Regions from separate parts of the Homo sapiens genome. Here region 2 is linked to region 1. The links are contacts of gene promoters, found by promoter capture Hi-C in human tissues and cell types (Jung and others, 2019). All regions are on one chromosome and are shown on one strand. The core of a region is centred on a gene start or on the middle of the fragment in contact, and the rest is flanking DNA. Distances in the headings are between cores, read along the strand shown. Region 1 holds the start of RPL13 (ribosomal protein L13). Region 2 overlaps CDK10 (cyclin dependent kinase 10).

What was found. Contacts are between HindIII fragments. The study calls those that stand out against the background at their distance.
Region 2: a contact is called between a fragment that was not itself captured here and the fragment with the promoter of RPL13 in region 1, in 12 of the 25 tissues and cell types used here (H1 embryonic stem cells, IMR-90 fibroblasts, aorta and 9 more).

What each region holds. Positions count from the first base shown.
Region 1 is chr16:89,556,931-89,561,931 of GRCh38, reverse strand. It overlaps RPL13 (ribosomal protein L13), which reads right to left and starts at 1,250. Exons shown (of 6, transcript NM_000977.4): 1 at 1,220-1,250; 2 at 869-992; 3 at 564-705; 4 at 181-354. The coding sequence starts at 972. SNORD68 (small nucleolar RNA, C/D box 68) reads right to left here and starts at 502; the gene lies at 431-502. It overlaps SPG7 (SPG7 matrix AAA peptidase subunit, paraplegin), which reads right to left. Exons shown (of 17, transcript NM_003119.4): 17 at 4,166-5,001. The coding sequence ends at 4,839. RefSeq lists silencers at 668-717, 778-1,047, 2,589-2,808 and an enhancer at 1,158-1,267. The HindIII fragment of the contact is 11,945 bases long and covers 1-5,001 here.
Region 2 is chr16:89,688,559-89,692,083 of GRCh38, reverse strand. CDK10 (cyclin dependent kinase 10) reads right to left here. Exons shown (of 13, transcript NM_052988.5): 2 at 2,760-2,832; 3 at 1,460-1,531; 4 at 539-641; 5 at 197-278. Among named protein-coding and RNA genes, the nearest start is that of LINC02166, 3.4 kb to the right of the region's middle. The HindIII fragment of the contact is 5,257 bases long and covers 1-3,525 here.

The DNA.
Region 1 (5,001 bases), core at 1-2,500:
GTCCATTAAGGTTATCTCTGCGGAAACGCACAGGTGAACCTTAGCAGTCCCGCTTAGCTCATCACCCACAATGTTTTGGTTCTTCTCACCCCAGCAAGACCCAGGGACCGGTGTCACTGATAAAGGAGCCAAGCCTCACTGTCCCCGCGCACCAGGACGGCCAGAGAGCCGTGTACTCACAGAACTGTCTCCCTTCTTGGGGGCCGAGGGCTTCCTGGGGAAGAGGATGAGTTTGGAGCGGTACTCCTTCAGCCGCTGCACGTTGGCCTGCAGGGACTCCGTGGACTTGTTCCGCCTCCTCGGATCCACAGAAATGCCGATGGTCCGGGCCACCTTCTTGTGAATGCCGGCCACCTGCCCCAGAACCAGAGAGAGATGGAGACAGGCCCGGGCTTTCTCCAGCCCCGAGGCCTGGATGAAAAGCCTCAGCAATCAGATGGAAAAGGGTTCAAATGTGCTTTCATCAAGGCCGTACAGCGATTCCGGAGAATGTCATCACGCGACTGAGGCCAACAGAGGGGACTTCGGGGCCTTCCTGACACCGCAGCGCTGCCAGTACTCACCCTGAGCTCCTCCAGGCTGAAGCCGCGGCCGGCGCGCACCTTCGTGTGGTACCGAACCGTGGGGCAGCGCACGATGGGCCGGATGGGACCCGACGCGGGGCGCGGGGCGATGCGGCGCGCCTTGGCTTGCCGGGCCTTACGTCTGGTGGAGAGAAGCGCAGCGGCGGTCACCCTTGCCTAAGGCCGCCAGGCCAGCGCTCCGCGACGGTTGCAGACAGCGCCCCCCGCCCTGGCATCGGCCACCCGCAAGCCAAGGCGCAGCCGCGGGCACGAGCCCCAGGGGCAGCCCCGAGCGCAGGGCTCACCTGCGGATCTTACGGGCCGGCTGGTTGAACCACGTGGCCACGCGCCGCTGCCAGTCCTTGTGGAAGTGGGGCTTCAAGACCATGCCATTCCGGCTGGGCGCCATGGCTGCCTACGGCCCTGCGGCTGCGGACGAGAGGGGAGCGAGTGAGAGGCCGGACCCCGGGCGCGCGCACCCCCCCGGGCCTCCGCCCCGAACCCTCCAGACTGGGCCGTCCGGCCGCGCCTAGAGCCCGGGCAGCGGCCGAACGCTGTCTGCGAAGAAGAAGGGGCCCATCCACTCCCGCGTTGGCTGAAGCGCCAGGCCGATGGCGCTGGATGATGCCCAAAGGCCAGGACCCAGTCTCCCTCACCTCCTGCGCAGGAAAACAGCCGAGCGGAAAGGAAGCGGCCCCGCAATGCACTCTGGGATGATAGCAGGGCCGGCCAACCAGAAGCGCCGGGCGCTCTGACCAATCAGAGCCCCGAAAGGAGGAACTGACGTCGCCGCGGCTCTCCCGGCAGCCCTAGGGCCGCCGTCGCAGACATGTTGCCGCTGAGAATGCGGCGGGGCGGCCGTGATTCCTGGGCCCTGAGTAACCGACGGCCGGACTTGCTTGACGTCCGCCGTTACTGCCCCGGCGCTTCAGCCGCTGCGCGGGCCGCGGCCGAGTCCTGTCTTGCGGGCTAACGCGCGCGAGTCCGGTATCTGGGCCGACGGCGAACGGGCGACGCCCGAGGAATTCTGTTTGTTCACATTTGTGAGACACGTTTGCAGCGCAAAGGCAGAAAAACTTCAGTGACATCCGAGTTTGCGCAACCTAAGGCCTTCGTCCTTGTCGTTCCAGCGTTTATTCTCCTCCCATCCATTTAGAACATTTGTGGTTTTTTTTTTTGTTTTTTTTTTTTGGAGACGGAGTCTCGCTCCGTCGCCCAGGCTGGAGTGCAATGGCGCGATCTCGGCTCACTGCAGCCTCCGCGTCCCAGGTTCAAGCAATTCTGCCTCAGCCTCCCGAGTAGCTGGGATTACAGGCGCCCGCCGCCACACCCTGCTAATTTTTGGTATTTTAGTAGACGGAGTTACTGTTGGCCTCTGTCGCTTTCCCTTGGCCCAGGATTAGGTGACTTCTCTAAGGTCAGGGGTACCCGACTGAAAATGTCACACTCTGACCTGCTGTGCCTACTGCCTTCCTTCACAAAGAAAAGCATCAACAAAAAGCCATCTCTTCTCTAGTATAAGTCTGTGAAGGCACCATCCATCTTACTGCTACCTGGAAACCTTTAAATCCCAATAACCCTCTTTCTTCCCTACCCTCACCCAATCACCACGCTTCCTCCTGGTAAAACTTATTATTATTTTTTTTTTTTGAGACGGAGTCTCCCTCTGTTGCCCAGGCTGGAGTTCAGTGGTGCGATCTCTGTTCACTGCAAGTTCTGCCTCCCGGGTTCACGCCATTCTCCTGCCTCTGCCTCCCAAGTAGCTGGGACTACAGGCGCCCACCATCACGCCCAGCTGATTTTTTGTATTTTTAGTACAGACGGGGTTTCACTGTGTTAGCCAGGATGGTCTCGATCTCCTGACCTCGCGATCCGCCCGCCTGGGCCTCCCAAAGTGCTGGGATTACAGGCGTGAGCCACCGTGCCTGGCCAACGTAATCCACATTTTAAGAATTTCACAGTTCCAGCACTTTGGGAGGCTGAGGTGGGCGGATCAGCCGAGGTCAAGAGTTTGAGATCACCCTGGCTAAGATGGTGAAACCCTGTCTCTACTAAAAATACAAAAAAGCTGGGCGTGGTGGCGCATGCCTGTAATCCTAGCTACTTAGGAGGCTGAGTCACCAGAATTGCTTGAACTGGGGAGGCAGAGGTTGCAGTGAGCCAAGATCACATTACTGCACTCTAGCCTGGGCAACAGAGCAAGACTCAGTCTCAAAAAGAAAAAAAAGTATTTCACAGGCCAGGCACGGTGGCTCATGCCTGTAAATCCCAGCACTTTGGGAGGCCGAGGCGGGTGGATCACCTGAGGTCAGGAGTTGGAGACCGGCCTAGCCAACATGGCAAAATCCCGCCTCTACTAAAAATACAAAAATTAGCCATGTGTGGTTGTGTACACCTGTAATCCTAGCTACTCCAGAGAGTAGGACAGGGGAATCACTTGAACCCAGGAGGCAGAGGTTACAGTGAGTCGAGACTGCACCACTGCACTCCAGCCTGGGTGACAGAGTTAAGCCTCCGTCTCAAAAATGAAAAATTTAAGAGCTGGGCGTGCTGGCTCACACCTGTAATCCCAGCATTTTGGGAGCCCAAGGCAGGCAGATCACGAGGTCAGGAGATCGAGACCATCCTGGCTAACATGGTGAAACCCCGACTCTACTAAAAATACAAAAAATTAGCCGGGCGTGGTGGCAGGCGCCTGTGGTCCCACCTACTTGGGAGGCTGAGGCAGGAGAATGGCGTGAACCCGGGAGGCGGAGGTTGCACTGACCCAAGATCGTGCCACTGCACTCCAGCCTGGACTACAGAGCAAGATTCCATCTCCAAAAACAAATAATAATTAAAAAATAATAAATTAATTTCACAAAAGGCTTGGCACAGTGGCTCACACCTGTAATCCCAACACATTGGGAGGCCAAGGCAGGAGGATCACTTGAACTCAGAAATTCGAGTCTAGCCCTGTCTCTACAAAAAGTACAAAAATTAGTCGGGCATAATGGTGCGTGCCTGCGGTCCCAGCTACTTGGGAGGCTGAGTCAGGAGGATTGCTTGAGCCCAGAAGATCGAGGCTGCAGTGAGCCGAGATGGCGCCACTGCACTCTAGCCTGGGCGACAGAGCAAGACTCTGCCAAAAACCAACACAACAGCAAAAAAAAAACAATTACCGAGGACACTACCCTTGGCTACACCAGCTAAAACCCTCCCATCGATGTGCTGGTCTTTGGATTTGGAGAACTGGGGCAAAGGTCAAGGCATCTCTCAGAGATGCCACCCTCGGGTGTGTGACTGCACCTGTGGCTGCCTCCTTACTGCTCCGCCAGCGTTTCAGTGTTGCAGCAACAAGAGGACAATCCACTCACGTCACTGCACCACAGGGAGGGCAGAAGCAAGGGGGCCGGAGTGGGAGCCGCATGCCCCGGAACTCAGGGCCAGGGTGTCCTGGGTCGTCTTCTATCCCTACGGGGTCCAGGCCCCAGATTCCTACAGAAGGAGTTTTTCACTTAGTCCCTGCATTACTCAAATTATAAACTGAAACCACAAGACCCTGTGATCCAGGGCAAGCCCACCAGCTCCTCTGCATTAGAGCTGGCCAGACAATGCAAATGTAGATTTTCCAACTACACAGTTTATTAGTAAAGTATCTCAACAATTCTCAGAGCAGTAAAAACCAAGGCATCCCCAACACTGCATGCGTGACTAGACCAGCAAGAAGTCCTCAACTTGCACCAGTCCACATGGCAGCAGGGGGCAGTGGTGAGTCCTCCGGAGCCCAGTGCCTGGGCCTGACTGGCCCCATTGATGAGTGAGCTGGATGACAGGGCCGCTGGAGATAGGACAATCGGCTCACAGGGTCCTTTCATGTCCGATCCCCTTAGCATTCCGAGGGAGCCACAGGAACTGGGGCGGTCGTGCAAGCGTCGGCATGAACAGGGGTCTGTTTGGAGTCTGAATGCTCTGCTGCCTCTGGGTGGCCTCAGCCACACTGGGAACGACTGTCTATAACCCTGGGAACTCGAAGTGTTCCATGCTCACTCGGGAAGCACTGATAACCTTCCCCATAGGGGAAACGACTCACAAACACAGGACTCCGTCAGTAGTTTCTGCAGAGAAACTTAAAATCATGAAAAGGGTCATCAATCAACAGATCTCAGAAGTCACTGTGCAGGGACTACTGAGGGCCGCGAGAGGAAGTGCAAACCTCAGCTGAAAAGCAACTCAGGGTGGCTGAGTGAGCCCTCACTTCCCGGACCACCCGCACGTGCAGCCAACACCTCCCAACTACTTGGGCCAAGTCGGCTCTTCGCCTCCAAGTGGAGGCTGCTGGGTCTCTTCGGTCTCCTCCTCGCCCAAGTCCTGTTTCTCCCTCTGGGCGTCGATCCACCTCTGCGGTGCGATCATTTTCTTCGGCCCATGGGGCGGCGGGCCAATGAGAGCCTCAATG
Region 2 (3,525 bases), core at 1,005-3,504, 130 kb before region 1:
GCCCTGGGGCTGCCCGCTCCCAGCAGATGCCCCCACCACAGGAATTCCACCTCACTGAAGCTCGCTGAAACACTGGGAGGTGGAGGCAGAGGCAGCAGCAGCTCTTCAAGTCCCCAAGTGCCCTGTTTCGTTATAAATGTGCACCACAAGGGCCCATGAAGCCCATTCCCCCACCCCAGGCCCCTCTGCCACGCACCTGAGCCTCCGAGAAGGGTGTTGGCATATTCTCCAGGAGGCTGGCCAGGTCCTGCTCACAGTAACCCATCACCAGGAAGATGCTGGAAGAAACAGAAGATGCATGCCACTCTCCGGCCTTCTCCTAAGGGGTGGAAGTGGAGCCTCCCCTGCTGCAGGAGGGGACATGGGCAGGACAACCTGTGTCCCCCTCAGACAATGGGCTGAGCCAGGCGGTGAGGTGGGGTCATCTCTTCTCTGACAACCTCATGCCCAGTGACACTCAGTCCTCGCTCTGTGCAACACCTCTAGCCCAAGACACATGCTCCCTAGGGCCCAATGTGCAGACCAGGAGACCACGTACCTCTCCAGGTGGTTCCCCACAACCACCTCCTTCAGCTCCACGATGTTCGGATGACGCAGGCGGAGCAGCAGCGTGATCTCCCGCAAGCTGCTGATGGGGATGCCTGGGGAGGGAGGTGGCCTCAGCGAGCCCCACCCCAGTGATGGCGGGGAAGCCCCAACCCCAGCCACTCTTGGGCTTCACGAACACCTGATAGCAGGTGCTGCAGTGTCCCCACCTCAGGGAGAATTGGGGCGACCCCAATAAGCATTTTTTTTTTTTTGAGACGGAGTTTCGCTCGTTGCCCAGGCTGGAGTGCAATGGCACCATCTCGGCTCACCGCAACCTCTGCCTCCCGGGTTCAAGCAATTCTCCTGCCTCAGCCTCCCTAGTAGCTGGGATTACAGGCATGTGCCACCACGCCTGGCTAATTTTGTATTTTTAGTAGAGATGGGGTTTCTCCATGTTGGTCAGGCTGGTCTTGAACTGCCGACCTCAGGTGATCCGCCTGCCTCGGCCTCCCAAAGTGCTGGGATTACAGGCATGAGCCACCATGCCCGGCCCAATAAGCACTTTTAACTCTTCCTTGACCAAATACGAATCGGCACCTCTCTAAACACCGTGGACATCTATGTGGGGCATGGCAGGGCCCTGCCTGCACAGGCAGGTGCTGGGGGTGGAGGGGACAGCAGAGCTGAGCCTGCAGTGAGGTGGCCTCACCAGACAGGAGGGGGAGGAGGGGATGGAGACTGCAGAGCCCTCCTGGCAGACAGCTGAGGCTGCGTGTGGACCTGGGGGTGATGTGCTGGGCCACACCAGAACCCTCCCAGAGGCCGGCCCCCGCTACAAGCACCGTGCAGTCGCTCTGAGGAAACTTCAGGTAACTCACATCCTTCTGCCTCCTCCCAGTGCGAGGTCCCAACACCCCAATTTCCTGCTCACCATCCTTCTCCTTGTCCATCCGCACCTTCTTCAGTGCGACAATCTCATCTGTCTGGGTGTCCCGGGCCCGATCTGGAATGGAAACACATTGGTGATGACATCATCTCGATGCCCCTCGTGGGCTCCCTAGCGCTGAACGGGAGGCTCTCCCTGAGCCACAGGGGTCCCCGTTCTTTCCTCTGACAACCTCATGCCCAGTGACACTCAGTCCCCACTCTGTGCAACGCCCCTAGCCCGAGACGCGTTCCCCCGGAGGGTTTCCTCATTTGAACTGGGCAGGGGGTGCCCAACTTTGCTCTGTGCTGGACCCTGGCCTCCAGCCACTCAGTTCTGTGGCTCCAGGCTCTCCATGTCCTCCTTAGCATGCAGATCACTGCTTTGTGCTCTCTTGTAATGTCCTAAAAGCAAATAAGGTACTCTATGCAGAAAAAAGCAAACCTTATTTTGTGTGAAGATGGCTCTACAAAACATCCTGCTAATGTGTGCAGCTTCCAGAATGACCTACGCCAATTTCACATCTGTTATAACCTTTAGTTGTGTGTGGTGTTTTTGGTTTTTTTGAGACAGGGTCTCACTCTGTTGCCAAGGCTGGGGTGCAGTGGCGTGATCACAGCTCACTGCAGCCTCAAACTCCTAGGCTTGGCCGGGTGCAGTGGCTCACACCTGTAATCCCAGTGCTTTGGGAGGCCGAGGCAGGAGGATCATTTGAGCCCAGAAGTTCAAGACCAGCCTGGGCAACATAGGGAGATCCCATCTCTACCAAAAATTTAAAAATTAGCTGGGTGTGCTTATGTACTCTTGTGGTCCCAGATACTCAGGAGGCTGAGGTGGGAGGATCACTTGAGCCTAGGAGGTCGAGGCCGCAGTGAGCTATGATCATGCCACTGCACTCCAGTCTGGGCAATAGAGCAAGACCCATCTCAAAAACAAACAAAAAGAAAAAACACCTGGGCTCAGGTGACTCCTCCAGAGTTGCTGAGGTGATAGACATGAGCACCATGTCCAGCTCCTGCTGCTTCTGGAAAGTTCTGTATTTTATTTCTCTAACAGTTCTGTGTACTCTGCAGTGACACGTTTGGATTATGGGCATTAGCAACCGGATGCTTACGTTTACCCAGAAATGGTACAATGTTTGTGATAACTACATCAGGAATTGAAGTTCCTGAACAGGTTTCTGCCCTGTTTCAGAGCACAGGGTCTGAGTCCCTTCCAGCCCCAACGCGGCTGCTGCTTCGACAGTCTCGTCCCACACTGTCACAGCCACGAGCTGCGGCCACATGTCCTAGCCTTGGCCACTCACACACAATGCCGTAGGTACCCTCTCCAATGCGGTTCAGCTTCTCAAACTCCTTCACACTCCGGCATCGTCCCAGCTGAAACAGAAGGGTGTTGCCAGTGTGGAAATTTGGCAGCTGATGGAACAACTGAGGAAATTTCAAATGGAATTTGTACCAGGGAGCCCACTCACGTCTTGCTCACCAAACAGAAAGGCAACCACACGTTTGGGCTTTTTTTTTCTTTTTTTGAGACTGAGTCTCGCTCTGTTGCCCAGGCTGGAGTGCAGTGGCAAGAACATGGTTCACTGCAACCTCCGCCTCCTGGGTTCAAGTGATTCTCCGGCCTCAGCCTCCTGAGTAGCTGGGATTACAGGCAGGTGCCACCACAACCGCCTAATTTTCTATTTTTAGTAGAGACTGGGTTTCACCATGTTGGCCAGGCTGGTCTTGAGCTCCTGACCTCAAGTGATCTGCCCGCCTTGGCCTCCCAAAGTGCTGGGATTACAAGCGTGAGCCACCGTACCCGGCCTCTTGGGCTTTTCTGATGAGAAAAGGTGGTGACGATACTGGGCCAATGCTTTGAAAGAAATATCAGAGGCGGCCACTCAGATACTCCCTTTCAATCCCACATACAAAAATACATCTGTGGCAGAGGCTGCTGTCCCAGCATCCCTGTATCACTACCTCCTGGAAGTTATGAAACGCTACCCAGTGGCATCTGGCCTTGGAATGTGAGCTGAAGGGACCGTGTGACTTCCAGGTGAAAGGAAGCTTTCACCTCTTCTCACC